3 separate regions of the Homo sapiens genome follow, and regions 1 and 2 are each linked to region 3. Evidence: promoter capture Hi-C in human tissues and cell types (Jung and others, 2019). All regions are on one chromosome and are shown on one strand. The core of a region is centred on a gene start or on the middle of the fragment in contact, and the rest is flanking DNA. Distances in the headings are between cores, read along the strand shown. Region 1 has its middle 9.1 kb from the start of MSMP. Region 2 has its middle 5.8 kb from the start of TESK1. Region 3 holds the start of TPM2 (tropomyosin 2).

Region 1 (4,849 bases), core at 983-3,482, 73 kb after region 3:
TTCCCCATCCCCAAAACTACCCAGACTGGCAGAGACTGAGGCCCAAGCCACAGATCCTGATTTCACAGACCTGGTAGTAGATTTATGGGGTGGGTAGGATAAGGAATGATGAATGAAGCTTTCCTTCTAGCATTGATATTTCATGTCATTTTGGTGATAATTGAATTTGTAATCATGAGAACTACATTTCCCTGGGAGTTGGTTGTTAGATGCAAGTTTTGGAATCAGGATGCTTCTCTTTATTTATTATGTTATTTATGCCTGCTTCACTGGACCTTGAGTCTTAGATGTTTTTGCATCCCTAGCTAAATGTCTTTACAATTTGCTTTGGGCCAAAAGGTTTGGCAATCTACTTCTAGTACACTGGAAGCAGCTAATGTTCAGTAAGAAAAGAATATTTTTAGGGCCAGGTGCATGGCTCATGCCTGTAATCCCAGCACTTTGGGAACATGAGGCAGATGGAGTGCTTGAGTCCAGGAGTTCAAGACCTGCCTGGGTAACATGACAAAACCCTGTCTCTACAAAAAAGAATACAGAAATTAGCCAGGTGTGGTGGTGCACTCCCGTAGTCTCGGCTACTTGGGAGGCTCAGGTGAGAGAATCACTTGAGCCTGGGAGGTCGATGCTGCAGTGAGCCATGATTGTGCCACTGCACTTCAGCTTGGGTGACAGAGCAAGACCCTGTCTCAAACAAACAAACAAACAAACAAAAAACCCCAAAAAAACAAAAACAACCAAATAATGAATTTGGGTTCTATTTACACTTAGTTATCAAAGCTAGTCATTTTTTAAAGGAGGATCATCTGGCTTGATTAAATTAAGTTTCCTTAAAGCCACAAATAAATGAAAACCTACTTGCACTTAGATGCTTTAAAATACTGACTCTGACTGGGTGTGGTGGCTCACACCTGTAATCCCAGCACTTTGGGAGGCCGAGGCAGGCAGATCACTTGAGGTCAGGAGTTTGAGACCAGCCTGGTCAACATGGTAAAACCCCCCATCTCTACCAAAAATACAAAAAATTATCCAGGCATGTTGGCACATGCCTGTCATCCCAGCTGAGGCAGGAGAATCACTTGAACCTGAGGCAGAGGTTGCAGTGAGCCGAGATCAGTGTGAGATTCTGTTGAAAAAAAAAATTCAACTTGATCCAAAACAGGAGCAGGCTGCCTCCATGGTATATTCATGTCATGCCAGAGCAAGAGCAAGGGAGAATACAAGGAAATAAGGCAGACATGATAGCTCTCCTCAGACAATTGAAGGACTGTCATGATGAAGGAGCAATTAGATTTACTGGTTTAGTTCCAGAAGATAGATTAAGAACTTTTATTTAGTGATGGAGGACAAATTTTGGCTTGATAAGGAAATTTTGACTCATTTGAGGACCCCAAAGTGGAATGAACTGAATTGTTAGGCAGTAAATTTTGGCCATATTGTTCATATAGAGGTTAGATGACCGTTTGCACAAGGGTCGGATGAGGTTTTAGACATTAAATTGGGTTCAACCTGCAAGGAGAAGCAGGCAGATTTAGGAAAAGTCAATTCGCCCTTTTTCTGTCATATGATTCTGTGGCACTATTAAATTCATTATTATTTTTCTAGGCACCTCTGTCAATTTTACCCCCTCAAGTAATTGATAATAGAGTTGATAGTAAAGTCTTTAGAGATTTCTCAAACTTTGTTCCTCAGCCCTCTGGAGATTTCTGAAGGATGCCTCAGAAGTGGCTGAGAAGGGTGAAATGAAGGCTAGCTGGGGCTCTGAGCCCTTTTACCTATGCTTCAACCAGAACAATCTTGCTTTTATTTGTTTTACAAATTAAACGTACTGGCTTCCTTGAAGATTTTCTTTTTAACGGAAAAAAAAAAACAGTTCTGCTGTTAAAAAAAAAAAGTTAAAGGCTCTGATATTTCAAGGTGTTCCTTTTATTGAAAGGGAAGCTGAGATACGGAAGAAGTGTCTTGCCAGAGGTCACACAGCTAGTAAATTTCAGAGCTGGGATTCAAATCTAGCTCTTCTAGTTCAAATCTTTTGTTTCTTCCACTCTACAAGTCTGCCTTGTTAGAATTCAATGAAAGCTTCTCTCCATTCTACTGGCCACCACTGTAATCCAGAATCTCATTTCTTCTAATTTACTATTCTGTATTAGCCACTTAACTAGTCTCCTTGCTGTCTAATTCTGTTCTATATTATATATACTGTTGCCATTTTATTCTTCTTGGAACATTGTTTTCGTCCTGAGATTTCCCTGTTTAAGAACCTTCTCCCTATCTCTTAGAACTTTTCAGGCTAACCTTGTGTTAGCATTCTTTAGGATCCTCATTGTTCAGCTGAATGAGAGCCTAAATCCATCCTATTATGAGTAATTAATGGGCTATATAATAGTGAGATTAACGGAGTCCCTCCCTATTCCTAGACTTCACCTTTGGCAAGATTTTCATGTGTACAGTTTTAATCAGGCATGACAAGAAGATACAAAAGAAACAGAAAATCACAGCCCATAAAAAGCAAGTTACATAATAATATGAATAATACAATCCTATTTATATCTCACATGCATGCATTTTTTAAAACAAGAATGAGATATATAGAAATTGCCTGGAAGAAAACACATCAGACTGGGCGCGATGGCTCACGCCTGTAATCCCAGCACTTTGAGAGGCCAAGGCAGGCAGATCACCTGAGGTCAGGAGTTCGAGACCAGCCTGGCCAACATGGCGAAACCCTGTCTCTACTAAAAATACAAAAATTAGCCGAGTGTGGTGGTGTATGCCTGTTATCCTAGCTGCTTGGGAGGCTGAGGCAGGAGAATCGCTTGAACCTGGGAGATGGAGATTGCAGTGAGTCAAGATCTTGCCACTGCACTCCAGTTTGGGCAACAGAGTGAGACTCCATCTCAAAAAAAAAAAAAAAAAAAGAAAAGAGAAAAGAAAAAACTCATCAGACTGATGACAGACATTAACTCTGATAAGAGAGATTGAGAAAGGAGAGAGAGGAGGGGAGGAAGAGGGACTTCCTTTTTTTACTCAGGAGGCTGAGGTGGGAGGACGGCTTGAGGCTAGGAGGTTGAGGCTGTAGTGAGCCATGATCATGCCACCACACTCAGCCTGGGAGACAGAGTGAGACCCTGTCTTGAAAATAAAATAAAATAAAAAGAAGAAGAAGAAAAAAGAAGTGAAGTGTTTTGTTTTCCCACAATGGAGATCTTTTGAAGCATTATCCTTTTGGGAAAAAGTTAATTTCAATTCTTAGCACTTGGTCTGATTTTTAAAAATTCGACTTAAGCTAATGATGAGAAGTGTGCATATTCACACTCTTTAACTCCTGTGGATTGGATAACAAATTAACCTCCATTTCCACTGGACAGAGAACTCATTCTTCCGGTATGTTTCAGAAGGCTAATGGAGCAAGGATAACCTTATATTACTAATGGGCTGCTTAATCTCTATAATGATTTGTTGGCCAGCTACTATTGATAACAAAAAATACTTTTAAATAACTGTTTCAAAATACTTTTTTCAACTTTATTGAAATATAATTTATATACAGGAAGATGTACCCATTTAAAATGTACAATTCAGTGAGTTTTAGCAGATGTATATACCTGTGTAATCATCTTCCCAGTCAAGATGTAGAACATCTCTGTCACCACCCCACCACTGCCCCCAAATTTCCTTATTACCCTTTGCATTTACTCCTCACTCATTGCAATCCACACTGATCTGGTTTCTATCACTGTAGATTTGTTTTGTAGAGTTTCATGTAAATGGAGTCACAGAGTATGTATTCTGCATTTGGCTTCTTTAACTCAGCACACTGTTTTTGATATTTATTCATGTTTTTATGTATATTAATAGTTTGGCCAGGCACGATGGCTCACTCCTATAATCCCAGCACTTTGGGATGCCGAGGTGGGCAGATCATGGGAGGTCAGGAGTTTGAGGCCAGCCTGGCCAACATGGTGAAATCCTGTCTTGACTAAAAATACAAAAACTAGCCAGGCGTGGTGGTGCACACCAGTAGTCCCAGCTACTCAGGAGGCTGAGGCAGGAGGATCTCTTGAACTCAGGAGACAGATTGCAATGAGCCAAGATGGCGCCACTGCACTCCAGCCTGACAACAAAGCAAGACTCTGTCTCAAAAAAAAAAAAAAAAGAAGTCCATTTTTATTGCTGAGCAATAATTCATTGTATGGACATACAGCAGTTTGTTTATTCATTCATCTGATGATGGATATTTGGGCTGTTTTCCACTTTTTTGGAAGCTGCTATGAACACTCACATTTAAGTCTTTGTGGACATATGTTTGCATTTTTTTAAGATAAATGCCTAGAAGTGAAATCTTAGATCCTGTTGTAAGTGAATGTTTTACTTGATAAATAAAAGACTGCCAGTTTGGTGCAGTGGCTCATGCCTGTAATCCCAGCACTTTGGGAGGCCAAAGCAGGCAGACTGCTTGAGTCCAGGAGTTTGAGACCAGCTTGGACAACATGGTGAAACCCCATCTCTACAAAAAATACAAAAATTAGTTGGGTGTGGTGGCCCAGGCCTGTAGTCCCAGCTACTCGGGAAGCTGAGGTGGTAGGATCATCTGAGTGTAGGAGGCGGAGGTTGCAGTGAGCCATGATCTTGCTTCTGCACTCCAGCCTGGGTAACAAAGCATGACCCTGTCTCAAAAAAAAAAAAAAAAGTTACTGATTTATTCATAAAATAAGATAAATTTTTAAAAAAGAGAAGTGCCATACTGTTTTCCAAAGAGTCTGTACCATTTTCCACTTACCAGCATTATATGAGAGTTCCAGTTGCTTTGCATCCTTGTCAGCACTTAGTATTGTCAGTTTCTTCTTTCTTT
Region 2 (4,515 bases), core at 1,137-3,636, 90 kb before region 3:
AAATGACCCACAATGTGTATGTAGAGGGAGAAGAGAAGAGATCCAATGACAGAGCCCTGTGTATTCCACTGTTTAGAGGTCAGGAAGCTGAAGAAGAACCAGCAAAAGAGACCTGGGAGAAGGAGCCAGTGAAATATGAGGAGAATCAAGAAACCAAATGAAGAAAGTGATTCAAGATACGGTATTATGTTTTCATAGAAAATGACCTTAGGAGACACTGCTAATGATTTTGAAATGAGGATGACACCTTCAACATACTTTTTTTTTTTTTTTTTGAGACGGAGTCTTGCTCTATTGCCCAGGCTGGAGTGCAGTGGCACAATCTCGGCTCACTGCAACCTCTGCCTCCCGGGCTCAAGCAATTCCCTGCCTCAGCCTCCGGAGTAACTGGGATTACAGGCATGGGCCACCGCACCTGGCCTCGACATATTTTCAAATGCTACAATAAGATTTATATTATAGGCCGGGTGCGGTGACTCACACCTGTAATCCCAACACTTTGGGAGGCTGAGACGGGCAGATCACGAGGTCAGGAGTTTGAGACCAGCCTGGCCAACATAGTGAAACTCCATCTCTAGTAAATATACAAAAACTAGTCGGGCATGGTGGCAAGCGCCTGTAGTCCCAGCTACTCAGGAGGCTGAGGCAGGAGAATCACTTGAACCCAGGAGGCAGAGGTTGTGGTAAGCCAAGATCATGCCACTGCATTCCAGCCTGGGCAACGGAGCAAGACTCTGTCTCAAAAAAAAAAAAAATTATATTGTATTATTACTATTATATGTTATACCTATTCTATATTAGAGAGAACTAATAGGACAAAATGTTAACAATTGTTGGATTTACATGAATGATGTACAGGTGTTCATTATGCATTCCTTCAACTTTTCTGCATGTTTGAATTTTTTCATAATAAAGAGATTAGGGTGACTGTTTTTGAGGGTTTGAGACAGGGTCTTGCTCTGTCGCCTGGGCTGGAGTGCAGTGGCAGCATTATGGCTTACTGCAGCTTCAACCTCTTGGGCTCAAGGATTCCTCCTACCCCAGCCTCCCATGTAGCTGGGACCACAGGCATGCACCACCACTCCTGGCTAATTTTTTGATGTTTTGTAGACAGGGGGCCTCACTTCATTGCTCAGCTTTGTCTCAAACTCCTGGGCTCAAGTGATCCTCCTGCCTCAGCCTCCCAAAGTGCTGGGATTACAGGCATGAGCCCCCATGCCCAACATGGGGATACTATTTTGAGAATAATGAGTAATCAACCACATTCATTTAACTGCTTTTAAGGTCAATAACTTTATATTCCTCTAATACCCAGGTTGTGGTATCCAAACACCATTTCCCACTAAAAAAGACCATGAATCACTGGGGAAAAAAAGTAGCTGATACCAGCTCTGGTCTAGATATGCACAAAATGAGTCCAGAACATTTTATCATATTGGATAGCAAGAAAACTGGAAATTTATGTCAGAAGGACTCAGGAACTAACTTGAATAAGTTCCCACTGGCCAAAATAGGACAGTTTTGGCCAGTGGGAACAAAATAGTGATGGCAGCAGCAGGCTGTCTGCAGTGGCTGCTGCCATCATGCCAGCTGCAGCAGGGAGGCATGGCCAGGGCTGCACATTCCATGGAGCCAACAGGAGCTGGGGACAAGCGGGATCCTTGTCCCTTCCAAGTTGGGGTGGGAGCTCCCTGGGTGCTGCTGCAGCCGCCCAAGCCACGGCTGTGGACCCAGGCATCCCTGTGCTTTCAGGACCGGGAGCAGACAGGAGCCCTACCTTTCCAGGCGCAGCTGCAGCCACCCAAACCACAGCTGCAGACTCAGGCCTCCTGCTCAGCAGAGCAGGCAGGAGCCCCGCCCCTGCCAGGTGTAGGTGCAGCCACTCAAAGAGTGGCTGCAGACTCAGGAATCCCTGCCCTCTTGGGGCCCCAGAAGGCCTCACAGGCTCAGAAATTCCTGCTCCAACTGCCTGGCTTCTTCCTGCTGTTGGTGCCCACTCCAATCTCAGAACAAAGTCCGAGCAGAGCCTGGGCACTGTCACAGCCTGGCCGAGTGTGCACATACTCGGAGCAGTGCTGACACACCAGTCCCCTGCTGCTTTGGTCCCCTACAGATTTTGGGTGCCAATGAGCATAGGAGGGAAGCCAAGTGGGGTCTGAAGGCAGCTCAGCACTGGCCTGCAGGCGCCTCTTGGCACCTACAGCCTGGGCACCATGAATGGCAGCAGGAGGCAGACAGGCTTCTGAGCGGATGGGGCAGGTCCCTGGTAAGGCCCCACTTTCAGGCCAGGGAGGGCCTGAAGGCTGGGGACCGGGCTGCCCATCACACTATGGGAGTGGGAACTTGTGGTGACACTTCCAGGCCCACCCATGGCTGCCCAGGACCAACTGGCATGCACTTCCTCCCCTCTAAGGCCCATAAAAGCCCAGGCTCTGAGCAGACGTCAGGACAATCAGCTGCAGAGAGGAGCTACCCACACCAAGGCCTCCTCTCTGTGAGAGCCGCAGATGTTGGGACAACCAGCTGCAGAGAGGAGCAACCAACTTTGGGGCCTCCTCTCTGCTGAGAGCTGCAGAGACTACAGGATGACATACCTGCAGAGAGAAGCCACCCACTCTAGGGCCTCCCCTCTGCTGAGAGCTGCACAGATGACAGGACAACCAGCTGCAGAGAGACGCTACCCTCCCTGCTGATAGCTGAACACTTGTCAGGACGACTTGCCTAGCAGAGAGGAGCTACCCTCTCTGCTAGGAGCTGAACATGCCTCAGGACACCCCTGCTAGGGAAAGGAGCTGCCCCCTGCAGGTTTCTTTTGAGCTGTTCTATTGCTCAATAAAGCTACTCTTTGTCTTGCTCACTCTTCACTTGTCTGCGTACCTCATTCTTCCTGTCGCAGGACAAGAACTCAGGACCCACCAAATGGTGAGGCTAAAAGAGCTGTAACAAACGGGGGTGAGACATGACCCTTGCTTGCCACGTTGTGGGTGAAGGCAAGGAAAGAAGAACTGCAGCCCTTCGGGGAGCCTAGCCCTGGGAGCTCCCCAAGCCAGGGCTGTGACTTCCTCTTTGAGGACCTGCTGTTCCTGGCATCTCCAAGCTTCCAGGCACCAATGTGTCCCCCAGTGCCAGCTGTGGAAGCTGCTTGCCATGTGCCTGGTCCGGCCGCAGGCTTGCAGGGAAATGGTGCCATGCTGGCACCTGGAACTGCCCGCCCCACTGCAGCACCCGGAATGTCTGACTGTGCACAGTGGCTGGACCCAATGCTCACTCACATACCCCTAACTGTTCCACGCCTGTCTCACCCTTGGCAGGCATGGGACCCAGGCTGGTAGCGTGAGCCAAGCACAGGCTGCCAGGCTGGGTAGGCGAAACAAGCCCAGAGGGCCTGAGCAAAACTGGGGCAAAAGCACCACCAGCCACAGAGGTTTCTGGCCAGAAAAAGGACGCCCCAAAGATCCCGTAACAATAGGACAAGCACCAAAAATGATAACTGGGCGCAGTGGCTCACGCCTGTAATCCCAGCACTTTGGGAGGCCAAGGCAGGAGGATCACCTGAGGTCAGGAGTTTGAGACCAGCCTGGCCAACATGGTGAAACTCTGTCTCTACTAAAAATACAAAAATCAGCCGGGCGTGGTGACAGGTGTCTGTAATCCCAGCTACTCAGGAGGCTGAGACAGGGGAATCGCTTGAACCTGGGAAGCGGAGTTTGCAGTGAGCCGAGATCACACCACTGCACTCTAGCCTGGGTGACAGAGCAAGACTCCATCTCAATCAATCAATCAATCAATAACTGGGCTGGGTGCAGTGGCTCATGTCTGTAATCCCAGCACTTTGGGAGGCCAAGGCAGGAGGATCACTTGAGGCCAGGAGTTTGAGACCAGCCTGGGCAAAACATGGTGAGACCCTGTCTCTACAAAAAAATTAAAAATTAGCCAGGTGTGATGGCACGTGCTTGTAGTCCCAGTTACTTGGGAGGCTGAGATGAGAGAATCACTTGAGCCCGGGAGGTCAAGGTTGCAGTGAGCTTTGTGCCACTGCACTCCAGCCTGAAAAAGAGTGAGACCCGTCTCAAAAAGAAAAAAAAGATAACTAGCAATAATTGAGTATATCACATATGTGTTAAATTATGAGTTCATAATGGTACTTTAAAAAAAACCTCATCGGTCAACTTTGGAAGATGCTGGGGAACCAACTCATTACTTTGAAAGCTGGTAAAATAAGTGAGAAACAATCAAGTATTTATTCTGCCTTTCCTAGGAAATGTATCTCTGTGTAACAAATAGTTAATGTGGAAAAGTTTCTCCTTATAGAATTATTCTACCTAATACTTCTATAGGAATTCATTCAAAGAAGGAATGATAATATTATTTTCTAACTTTTTATTTATTTTGAGACAGGGTCTTGCTATGATGCCCAGGCTGGACTCGAACTCCTGGGCTCAAGCAACCCTCTCGGCTCAACTTCCCATGTAGTTGGGACTATAGTCGCGTGCCACCATGCCCAGCTTTAACTCC
Region 3 (4,386 bases), core at 1,287-3,786:
CTCTGTCAAAAACAAGGACACAGAGACCCTGAGATTTCAGAGTGGAAAGGAGAGAGGACCTGTGTAGGGAAAGGAGGTGGGGGGAGGGGCTGGGGGCAGCACTTGGACACAGCATAGGAAGCAGGTCCTTGGTCGGACTGTAGGGCAGGAGAAACAGCACCATATATAGAGAGTAGATGGTAGCTTGTCTTCCAGGTGCTGAAGGCACCTGGAGCTTGGCCACCTAGAGTGACAAGAGCCCATCATGGGCACAGGGCCGGATGACAGTGTGGAAGCATTCTGGGGACAGCATTGGGGGTTGGGAAGAATCACTGTGGGGGACATTGGAGTACTACCCTAGAGAGAGGTGAGACTGTAAAAGAAAAACTCTGCATGATGGTGGGGTGACAAAAGACTCTGGAAAGTTTGGGAAGTCCTGGGGTCCTCATCATGGGACTGATATGTGCCATTTCCTGCCTCTCAAGCTCTTCCCAGTTACGGGGGCGGCTCTCTAACCACAGGACAGGCACTACTGTCCCCATTAGAAAAATGGGAAGCAAGAGAGAGGGAGAAACTGAGGCACCATGTAAGTTGAGTGCTGTGTTCAAGGTCACCAGGAAGCTTGGGCAGTCTTTCCTATCTGCTCCTGGTGCTGCGGCTCTGCCTCCCCAGCTCTGTCCCTGTCCCCCCTGCCCCTCCAGCCCCCACCAGCAACTTGGGTTTCCAATCTTGCCTCCAGCTGCACTGGGCCTTGGTTATTTATAGAGTGTCAGATGCCCAGGGTTGTCTGTGCTAGCAGCTGCAGGTCAGCTCCCTCCCAAGTGCCAGGACTGGTGGAGAACCAAAACTGGAGGCTGGAGGTCACAGAAGCCCAACCCCTGGGGGGCTGGGAACATGAGCAGTCGACACAAACAGCTATGTCATCTCTGATGTTCAGACCATGCTTTATGCTAATCTAACCATAGGTTCATCTTAAAACAATCCTGGGTGGAAGGAAGATGGGGAAACTGAGGCAGAGAATGGGGAAACTACCACCACACCAAAGCCATATGGCCATTCTCCTACCTTAAGCTGGGGGTTGGGAATGGCAGGAAGTGAAGTCTGGTTGGGGTTGTGGGGTGGGCAGAGAAATCTCAGGGTAAATGACCTGCCAAGGTAGCTGCTTTGGCATTTGTGGCCCTGTCCCTCTGCCCTGTGGCCTGGCATGGTCTCCAGGCTGACAGCTTAATGAGGGTAAATGAGGAGCCATTAGAACCTGAGCTGGGGCCCCAGGGCACAGCAGGGCTGCTGAAGCCAGAGGTCAAGGCCAGGGAATTTCTAATGGCCCCTTAGGGTTGTAACTCAAGTGGGGTCTCATCTCTGGATCCCTCTCCCTCCTCCTGCAGGCTAGTACCTCACATCCACATCCCCCCATCCCCAAACGGCTGCAGTCTCCTCTCCAATTTCAGCTGGAGGATTAATTGAGGTAGATGGTAAATTCTTATACCTTCCACCCCCACAATGACTCATTGCTTGATCACTGTACATTCTAAAAGCTGGAACCAAACAGAATTACAGGGCTAAGTCCTCTGGGGGAAGTGGTAGGTGGTTTTGATTTATCCACTGTCTTGGATTACTTGTGTAAGTTTACCCTAGCCCTGGTTACTGAGATGAAACCATTTCTCTCCTGGCGCTGGGGACATAAGGGGATAAGGTGCCCCAATCCTCTTATTCCCATACCCGGGGGGCCCCTTCCCAGAGCCCTAACTCCTCCCATTGTCCCCCAAGTCCACACTCACATCAGTGGCCTTCTTCTCGGCCTGCTCCAGTTTCTCCTGGGCCTCCTTCACGGATTCAGAATACTTTTCCACCTCATCCTCTGTCCCCTTCAGCTTCTTCTGGAGGGCCTGCTGCTCCTCCTCCAGCTGGGACAGAGGGGACTTGGTCAGCCAGGCTGGGAGGGGGCCCAGGCCCAGAATGGAGACGCGGTGTGTGTAGGGGCGCTACTAAGATTTGGAGGCTACTGGGATGGAAGCGGAATAACATAAAAGGGACAGTACAGTCAAGGGTACTGGTGGGACCCGTTGAGGGTACAGAGAAAACTTCAGGCCCCAAGGAGCAGGACCAACCGCGCTCTGCAAAGGCAGAGTGGAAACCAGGGGCCTGGGGCTTCCCCAGGCTATTGTAGGGGAGAGAAGCGGCTCTGGCGAAGGCCCTGAGGGTACTGCGAAGGCCCAGCCCCCACCCTGGGTGAGAGAGAGCCTTGGCGGGCAGGCCCGGGGCTGGGGGACCCATGGCAGCGGCCCACCCTTGCCCTAGGCGCGGGGAGAGCAGGCTGCACTGGGCCCGGCCCTAACCTGCTTGCAGCGGTCCTCAGCTTGCTTCTTGTCGGCTTCGGCCTGCTCGGCGCGGTCGATGGCGTTCTCCTTGTCCAGCTTCAGCATCTGCATCTTCTTCTTGATGGCGTCCATGGCTGCGGTGGGGGGTGGGCCGGCCGGCAGGCGGTGAGGACCGGACGGACTGGGCTGGGTGAGCGGACTGGGTGCACCGGTGGCAGGCGAGGAGGACGGAGCGGGACTGGGACGTCCCGGCCACGCGGGCGCCTAAAAGGCGGGGAGGGACCGGGCGGGGCCGGCAACCAGGACCCTCCCCCACCTCGGCCCAAACCTTGTAGGGGCAGAAGCACGGCCCGGCCGGGGGGTGCGGCCGCCCCCTTCGCCCACCCACTGGGGACCGCCTCCCTTGGGGTCCCGCCCCCATCCCCCTCTTCCCTGCCAGCCGTCGGAGGAAAAAGTGGCCGACGGTCGGCTGGAAAAACCCCGGCGATGCGAAGGGGAGGGGACCCTTGGGCTGGGGGCTCCGTGCTTCCTCTGAGTGACAGCCGGACCCAGTGGCAGCTGCGGCTGGGGCCCCTGGGGCTATTTCGGGGCGTGAGCTCACGGCAGCTGCCCGGGCGCAGGGACCGGCGTGCCCCCCCTCAGCTGCAGCAGCCGCTACCCTTAATTTAGAAGTTTCCTGCAAATCCCCCCGGATTAAATGTCTCTCGGGAGGCGGAGCTCCTCGGCAGTTTGAGTGCCTCAGTTTACCCTGAGTCCCTCTAGGTTTGCGTTATCGACGTGGTGGTAGTAGCGGAGTCTCATCGGGAGCTTGGGGAAACTGAAGCAGGAAGCGAGCCCAGAGCCCCGGTCGCGGTGGGGAGTGTGGCCGGGCTTGCTGCCCCCAGGACCGGCCTGACCTCTCATCCCCTCGCCTCCCCTCCCAGCCCCTGCCCCTGGAGCCAGGCCCTTCCTGCGAGCACCCGGCGGCTCAGGACCCAGCTCCCCGCCCCGCCCCCCACGTGCCCCGCATATTTTCCACGCGGCTGCGGCCAGGCTGGTCACCGCGCGTTCCCCGCCCCCGCTCCCACCCGGACGCGTCCCGAGCCCCTCCGCTCCCCGCCCCTGGCTCCGCCTGGCCCCACTCCCCTCCGCGCGCCTTCCCTCTTCTCCCCCGCTCCCCGCGGACGCTCCTCTCTTTCCCAGTGGGCCAACTTTATGCTGAAATTTCTTTTCTGCCCTTTTTTGGGATGTTTCCCCATTGGGAGGCGGAGCCGGGCTGCGGCGGGGAAGGCGGAGGGCGAGGGGAAGAGTCACTGAGCTGCGGGGCATAGGGGGTCCGGGGCGAGGTGCCTTCTCCCACCCAGGCCGCCAAACCAGCGCCGGAGCCGGGTCGTGGGGTCTGGGAGTCGGAGGCGCGAGGCGCGAGGGTGTTTGTTTTCGTTTTTCCCTGGGGTGGGGTGGGGGGAAAGGAAGTGGAGAGCCGCCGGGAGGAGGGGGAAGGGGAGGAGAGAACAAGCGGAGGAAGCCGGGAGGGAGCTGCTAGCCTCGCCCCCACCCTCCAGTCATAGAGGGGCGGGAGGCCTGGATTTTGCAGTGGGCTGGGGACCGTGGGAACCCGAGGCCGCTGGCCGGGGCGGTGGGGAGGTGGCGTGGAAATGCATTCAGATCTGTTTAGCTGCCTGCTAGCCACACGGAGAGCAACCCTGGCCTGACCTCGCAGTGTTCCTCTAACTCCGTGGAAGACGCCTCATCCACCAGTAGCCTATGCTAGACCACTGGGTATCCCCTGCCCTTCGCGTCTCACAACCACCTAATCCTGGAGAGGCTGCCTTCTACCAAGGAGGTTCCTCCTCGGGTCGGTCTGGGCTGGCCTCTGGCCGCGCCTTATGTTTTCTTCAGTCTGTTTTGTAGTCTTACTTCTAGTTCCTCAACTCATTCATTCATTTGACTGTCCCATGACATTGTTGTCAAATATCTTTTTAAAAGTTAATGCGAATATTATCTAAAATTCTCCAAAACCCCTCCCTAATCCCTGTCCCCCCACCTTTTTTGAGACGGGAGCTTGCTAGATTGCCCAGGCTGGTCTTGAACTTATGGGCTTAAGTGATCC

What was found. Contacts are between HindIII fragments. The study calls those that stand out against the background at their distance.
Region 1: a fragment that was not itself captured here is called in contact with the fragment with the promoter of TPM2 in region 3 in 6 of the 25 tissues and cell types used here (dorsolateral prefrontal cortex, heart left ventricle, heart right ventricle and 3 more).
Region 2: a contact is called between a fragment that was not itself captured here and the fragment with the promoter of TPM2 in region 3, in 3 of the 25 tissues and cell types used here (dorsolateral prefrontal cortex, lymphoblastoid cells and spleen).

Annotation. Positions count from the first base shown.
Region 1 is chr9:35,760,986-35,765,834 of GRCh38, forward strand. It overlaps a transcript of RGP1 not described here. Among named protein-coding and RNA genes, the nearest start is that of MSMP, 9.1 kb to the left of the region's middle. The HindIII fragment of the contact is 6,133 bases long and covers 1-4,849 here.
Region 2 is chr9:35,597,208-35,601,722 of GRCh38, forward strand. No RefSeq gene overlaps it. Among named protein-coding and RNA genes, the nearest start is that of TESK1, 5.8 kb to the right of the region's middle. RefSeq lists silencers at 1,805-2,099, 2,669-2,788 and an enhancer at 1,839-2,479. The HindIII fragment of the contact is 9,787 bases long and covers 1-4,515 here.
Region 3 is chr9:35,687,389-35,691,774 of GRCh38, forward strand. It overlaps TPM2 (tropomyosin 2), which reads right to left and starts at 2,537. Exons shown (of 9, transcript NM_003289.4): 1 at 2,316-2,537; 2 at 1,758-1,883. The coding sequence starts at 2,429. RefSeq lists an enhancer at 502-979 and a silencer at 3,875-3,954. The HindIII fragment of the contact is 5,966 bases long and covers 135-4,386 here.